Linked DNA regions of Homo sapiens: regions 1 and 3 are each linked to region 2. The links are contacts of gene promoters, found by promoter capture Hi-C in blood cells and fetal thymus (Javierre and others, 2016). All regions are on one chromosome and are shown on one strand. Each heading gives the region's core, a stretch centred on a gene start or on the middle of the fragment in contact. The rest is flanking DNA. Distances are from core to core; before and after follow the strand shown.

The links. The method cuts DNA at HindIII sites, captures the fragments that hold promoters and counts their contacts. A CHiCAGO score of 5 or more calls a contact.
Region 1: a contact is called between a fragment that was not itself captured here and the fragment with the promoter of NANP in region 2, in 3 of 17 cell types (total B cells, monocytes and erythroblasts). The highest score is 8.7, in total B cells.
Region 3: a fragment that was not itself captured here is called in contact with the fragment with the promoter of NANP in region 2 in 1 of 17 cell types (activated CD4 T cells); the score reaches 5.0 in activated CD4 T cells.

The regions. Positions count from the first base shown.
Region 1 is chr20:25,061,922-25,064,621 of GRCh38, forward strand. It overlaps LOC124904882 (a long non-coding RNA gene), which reads right to left. Exons shown (of 2, transcript XR_007067555.1): 2 at 1,041-1,449. Among named protein-coding and RNA genes, the nearest start is that of ACSS1, 5.1 kb to the left of the region's middle. The HindIII fragment of the contact is 264 bases long and covers 1,179-1,442 here.
Region 2 is chr20:25,622,585-25,625,284 of GRCh38, forward strand. It overlaps NANP (N-acetylneuraminic acid phosphatase), which reads right to left and starts at 1,430. Exons shown (of 2, transcript NM_152667.3): 1 at 1,275-1,430. The coding sequence starts at 1,364. ZNF337-AS1 (ZNF337 antisense RNA 1) reads left to right here and starts at 1,461. Exons shown (of 4, transcript NR_126465.1): 1 at 1,461-1,551. RefSeq lists enhancers at 703-1,378, 1,350-1,519 and a silencer at 1,120-1,179. The HindIII fragment of the contact is 6,234 bases long and covers 1-2,700 here.
Region 3 is chr20:26,198,562-26,201,261 of GRCh38, forward strand. MIR663AHG (MIR663A host gene) reads right to left here. Exons shown (of 5, transcript NR_040095.1): 2 at 888-962. Among named protein-coding and RNA genes, the nearest start is that of MIR663A, 8.4 kb to the right of the region's middle. The HindIII fragment of the contact is 1,587 bases long and covers 596-2,182 here.

The DNA of each region.
Region 1 (2,700 bases), core at 61-2,560, 560 kb before region 2:
TCCCCACTGCCTCCCTCCTGGCAGCCAGTCATCAACTCTTGCAGAACAAGCACAAGATTGAACAAGCACAAGGAGCACCCACTCTTGGCCCTGCATCCCGAAGGACCCTCAGAGGTTTGGACAGGGCAGCAGGCTATCTGGGCAGTGCTGGTCACATCTTCTCCCTAAGAAGCCGCTGGCCTCAACTTCAGGAGAGCTCACTTGGAACGCTGGATGCTGTCAGGCAGGGGCTGCAGACACACGAAGTGCTTAGAGGGCAGGGTTCTTGGGAATCCGGGATTCGCTTCTGTCTCGGTACTAATGTTTAGGCCAGAAATGCCAACACAGCTGTGACTACTGACCCTACAACCTGCAGCAGTGAATGCTCTTGCCCTTGCTGTACATGTGTGAAAATAAGCAGGAGGACAGAAGCTCACCCGAGGCCACCAGCTAGTAGGTAGCAGAGCCATAGCGTCCAGAGCATCTTAATTTAACAGCTTTAGGGACAGAGCCCACCAACACGGCCTTCGCCATTTGCCTTCATAGCTCCTGCCATGCCCATTACTCCAGAGTCGCAGTGCTCAGATGCTCAAGAAACAGTCCTGGCTGATAACGGATCCCCAACCACTCCCTGTGCACTCAGTGGTCTCCAAAGAGCTGGTAAAACCCTCCCTTCCTCTTCTCTCCTCCATCTCTCCCTCTTCCTGTTCTCTTCATTTGTCTCTGTGACCCCACACACACACACCTCTTTCCAATGACACTCAGAAGAAACCTGTGAGCTTCTCCCATGTGCACCACCAAGAGCTGAGGGCTCTCAGTTGGACAAGGACGGTCCAGTTTTGGTCCCTGCAAGCAAGCAGGTCACAGTTCAAATTGGGGAGAGACAGACACTGTTCAAATAGCTGAAATGCACAGTAAAACCAAAACACAGAATTTAGAAGAGCATGGCAGAGCTCAGATCAAGTACAGGACCCAGATGCTGGGAGTCTGGAATTGGCTTCGTCACCAGTTCACTGAGTTCTTTCTCTACTCTGCATCAGCTACAAAGAAAGATCACCAGATTGGGGAAAAGGAAAAGCAGGTTTTATTCCCGGCCAGGCATGGAGAAGGAGAGAGCACTTGCTCTAAAGACAGCTTCTTCCAGAGCGGTGGGGAGCTGGGGAATGTAACAGGGTTAGATGTGGGGCAGGAGCTATGTAAGCTTATGTGGGGAGGAACTTCAGACACGCAGGTGCAGATCATGAACAGGCTCTTCATACGACACGTGTGCAGAAAGTGGCAACGATTCTCTTCTATGATTCTCTTCTATGAGTGGGGACTTTAGCATTATAATGATATGCTAATGATCTAAAGGTGACAGGGGCCACTGGTTCTGGTTTGCTCGGTTTTGGGCAAGCCTTACTTCCTCTGGTAATTGGCGAAGCGTCCTGAAGTTACCAGGCCACCCAAAGTTCTTTTAAGCAAGCTTACCTATAGATAAAGAGATGAGAAAAAAAATTGAGTAAGAAAAAATGAGGAGCTTTCTCAGCTATATCTCTAGGGCTGCCATGGTGGCAGCTTCACAAGGTGACAGGGCTCCCTTCCCTTCTGGCTCCTATTTCTCGATGTCCCCATGAACTCCGGGTGAGGATGAGGTATGTGGAGTCTGCGCATACATCTGCTTCAGCAGGGGGCTTGAGGATCCCATATGGCTGCAACACACCATAGCCTCATGCACTGTGGCACTGTGCACAAAGCCCTGCAGAAGTGCAGTGCGCCCCTGACCCTGCGGGGTCAACCCAACAACACACAGCGAAGCACAGGACGAGAGAGGGTGGCCACAAGCGCAAGAAGAGCTGGGAAGTGGGAGTGCAATCCAGCAACTGCCTGGCGTCCTTCCTGGGGCTGCGGGATACCCGGCCAGGCAGCTATGCTCTCTGATGCTCTGAGGGCGGTGCAGGAGGCAGAACAGTTGGGCTCTGTGGTGGGGCAGCTCCTGGTCAGCATGAGCGACATGGTAACTCAATTCCAGCAGCACCAAATCCTGGTAACTCTTAATCACTCACCCCAGCCATCCATGAGCATGCACGGCTGGGGACATCATCCATCAACCACCCATAGAACAGACTTCCCCACAAGACCCCTTGCAGCCCTCAGTGTTCAAGGAAGACACCATGAAAATCATTACACCTGGGAGAACAGTCCCTAACTGCCAGGCCTGCAGGGCCAAGGGGGGCACAGCAATTGCCCCCACATGCCAATGCCCTTCCCCATTCCCAAGCTGCCTCTCCTGGGGTTCCCCTACTGTGGTAGCTGCACTGCCTTCTCTCGCTCAAGGCCAGGCGTCACTTTTAGTGCTATTTGAGAGCTGTAAGTCTCTGAGATCACAGGGACATCTTGGGGTCACTCCAAGGGCAAAGCTCTGAGAACTTTGAGCTGTGGCCACTGTCCTGCCTCCTGTGTGGATCAAAAATGGCTTCCTCCTTCATGGAGCTCCTGAGTGTACAGATAGCACTAGACAGGGAGCCAAGGGAGAGGCCTAGAACCCCTCCTGGCTTCTGCCCTCTGTTCTGCCTCCAACCTGCCATGTGGCAAGGCCCCTGACATCTCTAGGCCTCAGTTTTCTCATCTGCAAAATGAACCAATGAGATCCAAATTCTGAATCCTTGAGCTCTAAAATTCCAAGAGGTGTATGAGTCCCATTAAGAACATGCCAGACTTAATAGCCAGAGTTTCTACTCC
Region 2 (2,700 bases), core at 180-2,679:
ATATGTAACATCTGCAGCGAGAGATACTGGAGGCAATATGGCACAGGGTGGCACCCCTGAGGTGGAGGCCAACAAGTTAAAAGTGTGGAATGCCTCAGTAAAGTCATGAAGACAGACTTTAAAAATGTCTACTGATTCCGGCATTTTGGGAATGCCTAGTGATCCAGCAAGTCTATTTCAGTCTAGCGGTGAAGATAAAGCGACATTACGATGGATTTAGTAATAAATAGGAGGTAGAGACAAGGAGATAACGGGTATAGATTTCTCCGGGAAAACATGGCTGTCAAGAGAGACAGGCAACATCTACAGCAGGAAGAATAGCCCAAAGGGAGGCATCCTTTTTACAGCTTTTTTAAAACTATAGGGCAAACATGAATATGCGGCAGGAGTGGAATGCAGCTAAAAAGAAAACGGATGAGGTAGTGGAAGATCCAGGGACACAAAAACTAACTGATGAAGCATGAAGAGGACGGGGCGCTCAGGTTTGGATGAATTAGCTTTTGAAAGTGAGTTTTCCACATCTGATAAATCCTTCCCTTTCCCCTTGAAGCTGAAGGTAGAGAAAGGGAAGCCGGGGTGGACTGGGGCTGGAACACGGGAAGGTCTGAAAGCGCCTCCGCGCGTGTAGAGGGGCAGTGCCGCGGAGGAGCGCCTCAGGAAGGGCATGCCCTCGCAGCACGGGCTTTTGCTGTGTCACGTGTCAGAAAGCCACGGTGACCACCACCCCGCCAGGGAGGCCAGAAGAAGTTCTGCGGCGACAATTCTCTAAAGCAGGGCTTAAGTCCAGGCTCGGTACTGACAGCCGTGTCCCTTCTTGGGTCAACACTGGGGCTAACTCTACCATGTCTCCTCCCAGCAACCCCGAAAGTCGCATGGGGGACACGACCCTCTGTCGAGCTCCACACCGACAGTCTGACCGGGGGCGGGACCAGCGCCTGGTCTCGCGGCTTTGCTGTCGCCTCCCGCGCCCACGGGCACCTCCGCCACCGTGGCAGCCGTCACGGAGCCCTTCCGCGTCCCGAGCGCCAAGGCACCTGCGAGCAGCCGCTCCAGGGCTCGAGATTGGGTGACAAGCGGCCGCCAGGCCAGGGAAAGCAGACCCGCAGGGCCCGCGCGCCTCCAGCCACCTCCGCACCCGCACGCTCCACAGGTTTCAACCAGCAAGAGCGGCCCGCGGCGCCGGGGTGGAAGTGGGGTCAAGGGGAGGTGAGCGTGCAGGACGGGGCGGGGCGCACTGACCCCGCCCAGAGGAGCGCCATGGGTGGGGACGTTACCTCCAACATGCCTCTCCTGCTCGCCCCGGCCGTGTCGATGAGAGTGTTGTCCAAGTCAAAGAAAACCGCCCGCACGCGGCTCAGCCCCATAGCGCCGGCCGCTGGCGCGAACCGTAGCCTTGCCACCGCCGCCTGCGCATGCGCAAGGCGGACTGCCCAGAGAGACGTGGGAGGAGCCGCGAAGTCACCAGACCATCTCCCGGCGCGGGTGGAATTCCCGCGATCTGTCTCATTCCCTGCGCCGCCGAGAAAAGTGAGATCCCGCGAGACTCCCAGGGTATGGTCTCTCAAGAGCCCTGGAAACGTGTGTCGGCGCCGCCGGATGCGGCGACTTCTCAGTGGCTGTGGCTGGCGTTGGTCCGAAGCGTGGTGTTCTTCCCTGGTGTCTTTCTGCTTATCTCTTTCCTCCCTGGGCCCTCCGGCGCGAGGGACCGTCATCACCTCCCCGAGAGAGGTTGTCCGCGCTGCCAGGCGCTGGGCAGCAGGCTCTCCGGGTGGCCGGGCGGGCGGCGCGGAGACGTCGGCGGGCCTGATGTCTGCCTTGAGCGCCCGCGGTCCTAGCCTGCCTGTACGCGCAGGTCACTGTAGGTGATCTGGGGACGGGGGAAGGTGGAGCCTGCGCCTTCCCGCCTCGCGCCATTTGCGGCCTTCGCCGGGGTGGAATCCCTGTCTGCCTGGGCCCGCGCCAGCACGTTTCTGAAGGATGTGACTTGGGTCTCTTACAACCCGTTTAGTACCTGTGCCCTAAGACGGAGGGGCTGTGTAGTGGCTGCCCCATGTTTTGCCCTTCCTGATTGTTTTCCTGAAACCTTGCGTTCTCAGGTCTTTGGATGCCTTTTACTCGGTTGTTTTCAGGCATAGCAAGAGGTTGAGGGACGTCGACCGCCTTTTAAACCCGCGGAAGGGCTGTAGCAACTCTTGTCTCCTAGTGCTGGCAGAACGGGGATCGTAACACTAATCTCTAATCTTTGTCTCTCTTGGGTACCTTTACTGTAATTTGGATATGTGGTCATCATTAGTGACCAGAAATTGACTGTCAGGTACAGGCCAATTACCTGATTTTGTTTAGCCAGTGAGCTAAGTGGTTTTTTTTATTTTTTAATTTATTTTTATTTTTATTTTCGAGATGGAGTCTTGCTCTGTCACCCAGTCTGGCGTGTAGTGGCACGATCTTGGCTCACTGCAACCTCCGCCTCCCGGGTTCAAGCAATTCTCCGGCTTCAGCCTCCTGAGTAGCTGGGATTACAGGCGCATGCCACCACCCCCCGGCTAATTTTTGTATTTTTAGTAGAGACGGAGTTTCACCATGTTGGCCAGGCTGGTTCTCGAACTCCTGACTTCGTGATCCACCCGTCTTGGCCTCCCAAAGAGCTGGGATTACAGGCGTGAGCCACCGCGCCTGGCTAAGGGTGATTTTTACATTTGT
Region 3 (2,700 bases), core at 139-2,638, 580 kb after region 2:
AAAATGTAAAGATGTAATTACCAACTCTTCATTATCTTACGGAATTTCAAGATAAAATCACTTTATTTCAATGTCAAAAGACAGAGCATTAAAGTCTTTTTCAAATACCATTTAATTGGATAGATTAAGATACTTTAATATATTAATTTCTTTCCTTGTTACTGTATATTTCACGATAAGAATGCAGGGATATATATTAGACTTCTGGGAAATTGAAACTGGTGTAACTTACCAGTTAATTCTAAAATCTATTAATCATGTGCTTTGCTTATCTTTCTTCCTTGGTAAAATATGAATGTTCAAAGATATTTTCATGTTGTCTAAAGCATCCGCATTTCATATACAAATATATGAAATATATAAAATATTAACAGAATTATACCAAATATATACAAAATAAAAATATACAAAATATTAATTTAGCAGAAAAAAAAACTGTTGCATGAAGATAAGGTACAGGATGGTACTTTATCTTATGGTTTTTTGTGAACCATAGTCAGAAAAATCGGGATCAAAAATAATAAAACAAAATATACCCATTGCCTTAAGGAAATAGGTAAATGAGATAATTATATTTTTAAAGGAACTATATAAAAGCTTTATGCAAAAATCACAACCATATTTCTTGTTCCTGCACATCCCAATCAATTCATTAGATTGTTTTACACATTCTGCAAAAATATTCTAATGCAGGCAGAGAATTTGAAATGTAAAACATTATCATACTGTCTCCTATATTTAGAGCTCAGCTATGTCTCTTATATGTTAAAATGCTACTTCTGTTTGACACACACTCTTACACCTACTGAGGAAAAAAATTGCTTCATATTAACAAAGTGAATTATCTCTTTTGAGTAACATGAGTAACCTGGTCAATAGTTACTTACCGTGTGTTAGTTATGGGCTGAACTGTGCTCCTCTCTCCCAAAATTCATATGGTGAAATTCTAAAGCCTAGTATTTCTGAAAGTAACCATATTGGGATGTTTTAAATAAGAATTCATTTAAAATGAGGCCCTCGGGGTGGGTCCTAATCCAAAAAAATGGTGTCCATATAAAATAAAATTTAGAAAGGGGTAAAAATCAGCTACATGTATGCACAGAAGTACAACTGTGTGAAGATAGAGCTGTGAGAAGGCAACCATCTATAAGCCAAGAAGAGAGGCCTAGAACAGATCCTTCCATCATGGTCCTCAGAGGAGCACTTTGACCTTGGATTTACAGCCTCTAGAACTGTGGGAAAATAAATATCGGTTGTTTAAGCCACCCAGTCTGTGTGTGTGTGCATGTGTTTAAGTGCCACCTTAGAAAACTAATATAATTGACAAAAGACATAATGGACTTTTTAAAGCCAGCACCCAACTACGTTAGCATCATTTTCAGATGTTTGTTTTAGTTTGTTTATTTTATTTTATCAAGTATTATAATGATAATTAAAAAAAAAAAGTTACATGAGGTGGTTCACACTTTTAATCCCAGCACTTTGGGAGGCAAAGGTGGGAGGATCACTTGAGGCTGGAAGTTCAAGACCAGCCAGAGCAACATAATGAAAGCCAATGTCTACAAATTTTTTTCTTTAATAAAAAATAAAGCTGGGTGTTTTTATAATAATGTGTTTTATTATAAAGCACACACCTGTAGTTCTAGCTACTTGGGAGCTGAGTTGGGAGGACTGCTTGAGCCCAGGAGATCAAGACTACAGTGAGCCATAATTGCACCACTGCACTCCACCCTGGGTGACAGAGTGAGACCCTGTCTGTAAAAAATAAATAAATAAATAAAAATAGATAAAAACAATTTCAAAACTTAAGACTAAAGAAACTCAGAAAACTGTCAATTACATTTTGCTCTGATTTTTCTCTTGTATATAGTATAATGAAATGTTACATCAACTTGCCATTTTTAAAAGTAAAAATCAGATGGATTTAGCTGGGCACAATACCAGTTGTATTGAGAATTTCTAATGTCACTCAGATGAAAGACTTGAAGGAAAGGAGATAGATTTAGAAGGAAAAGGAGACAGACTTAGCAGGAGAGATGGTTAATGAGATCAGTCATTCAAATAATCTACCTACTAGTAAAGTTAGACAAACAAACAAACGGCAACAACAACAACAAAACCCTACCCATCATCTTTAGAGAAAAATCATAGTCTCCCACTTGAAATAACACATTCGTCTGGAAGCTTAAATAAAAGAACACATATTTTCACACAGCACAAAAGAATTATTTTTATATTTGGAACACGATTGCTACAGAATTATGAAAAGAAAAAAATACAGACTGTAGAGAACAAAATAAGACAAGCTTCCATCAAGAAGGAAACATAAAATATACTAACTTGAAATAACAGATATACACAATATATGGAGTTCAAGTTTTTAGTGTTGACTCCAGCCGAGATATATCGGAGGCAAAGAAAGATTTGCAAAGGATTCATGAATTATCCAAAGTTAAACATGTTATATCTAACCAAGCCAGACCTAGAACACATTATTGGTCATATTCTTTCCATTGACTATGTCTAATTCCTCTTAAAGTTTTTTCCCTTTACATATAAATCCTACACACATTACCACTTTGGTAAGATAAACAGAACAAAACACTTATTTTTTCTTTCAGCACTTTGGATGTGCTATCCCATTGTGTTCTGACTACCATTGTTTCTGATGAAAAGTCAGGTGTTAATCATAAAGTCATT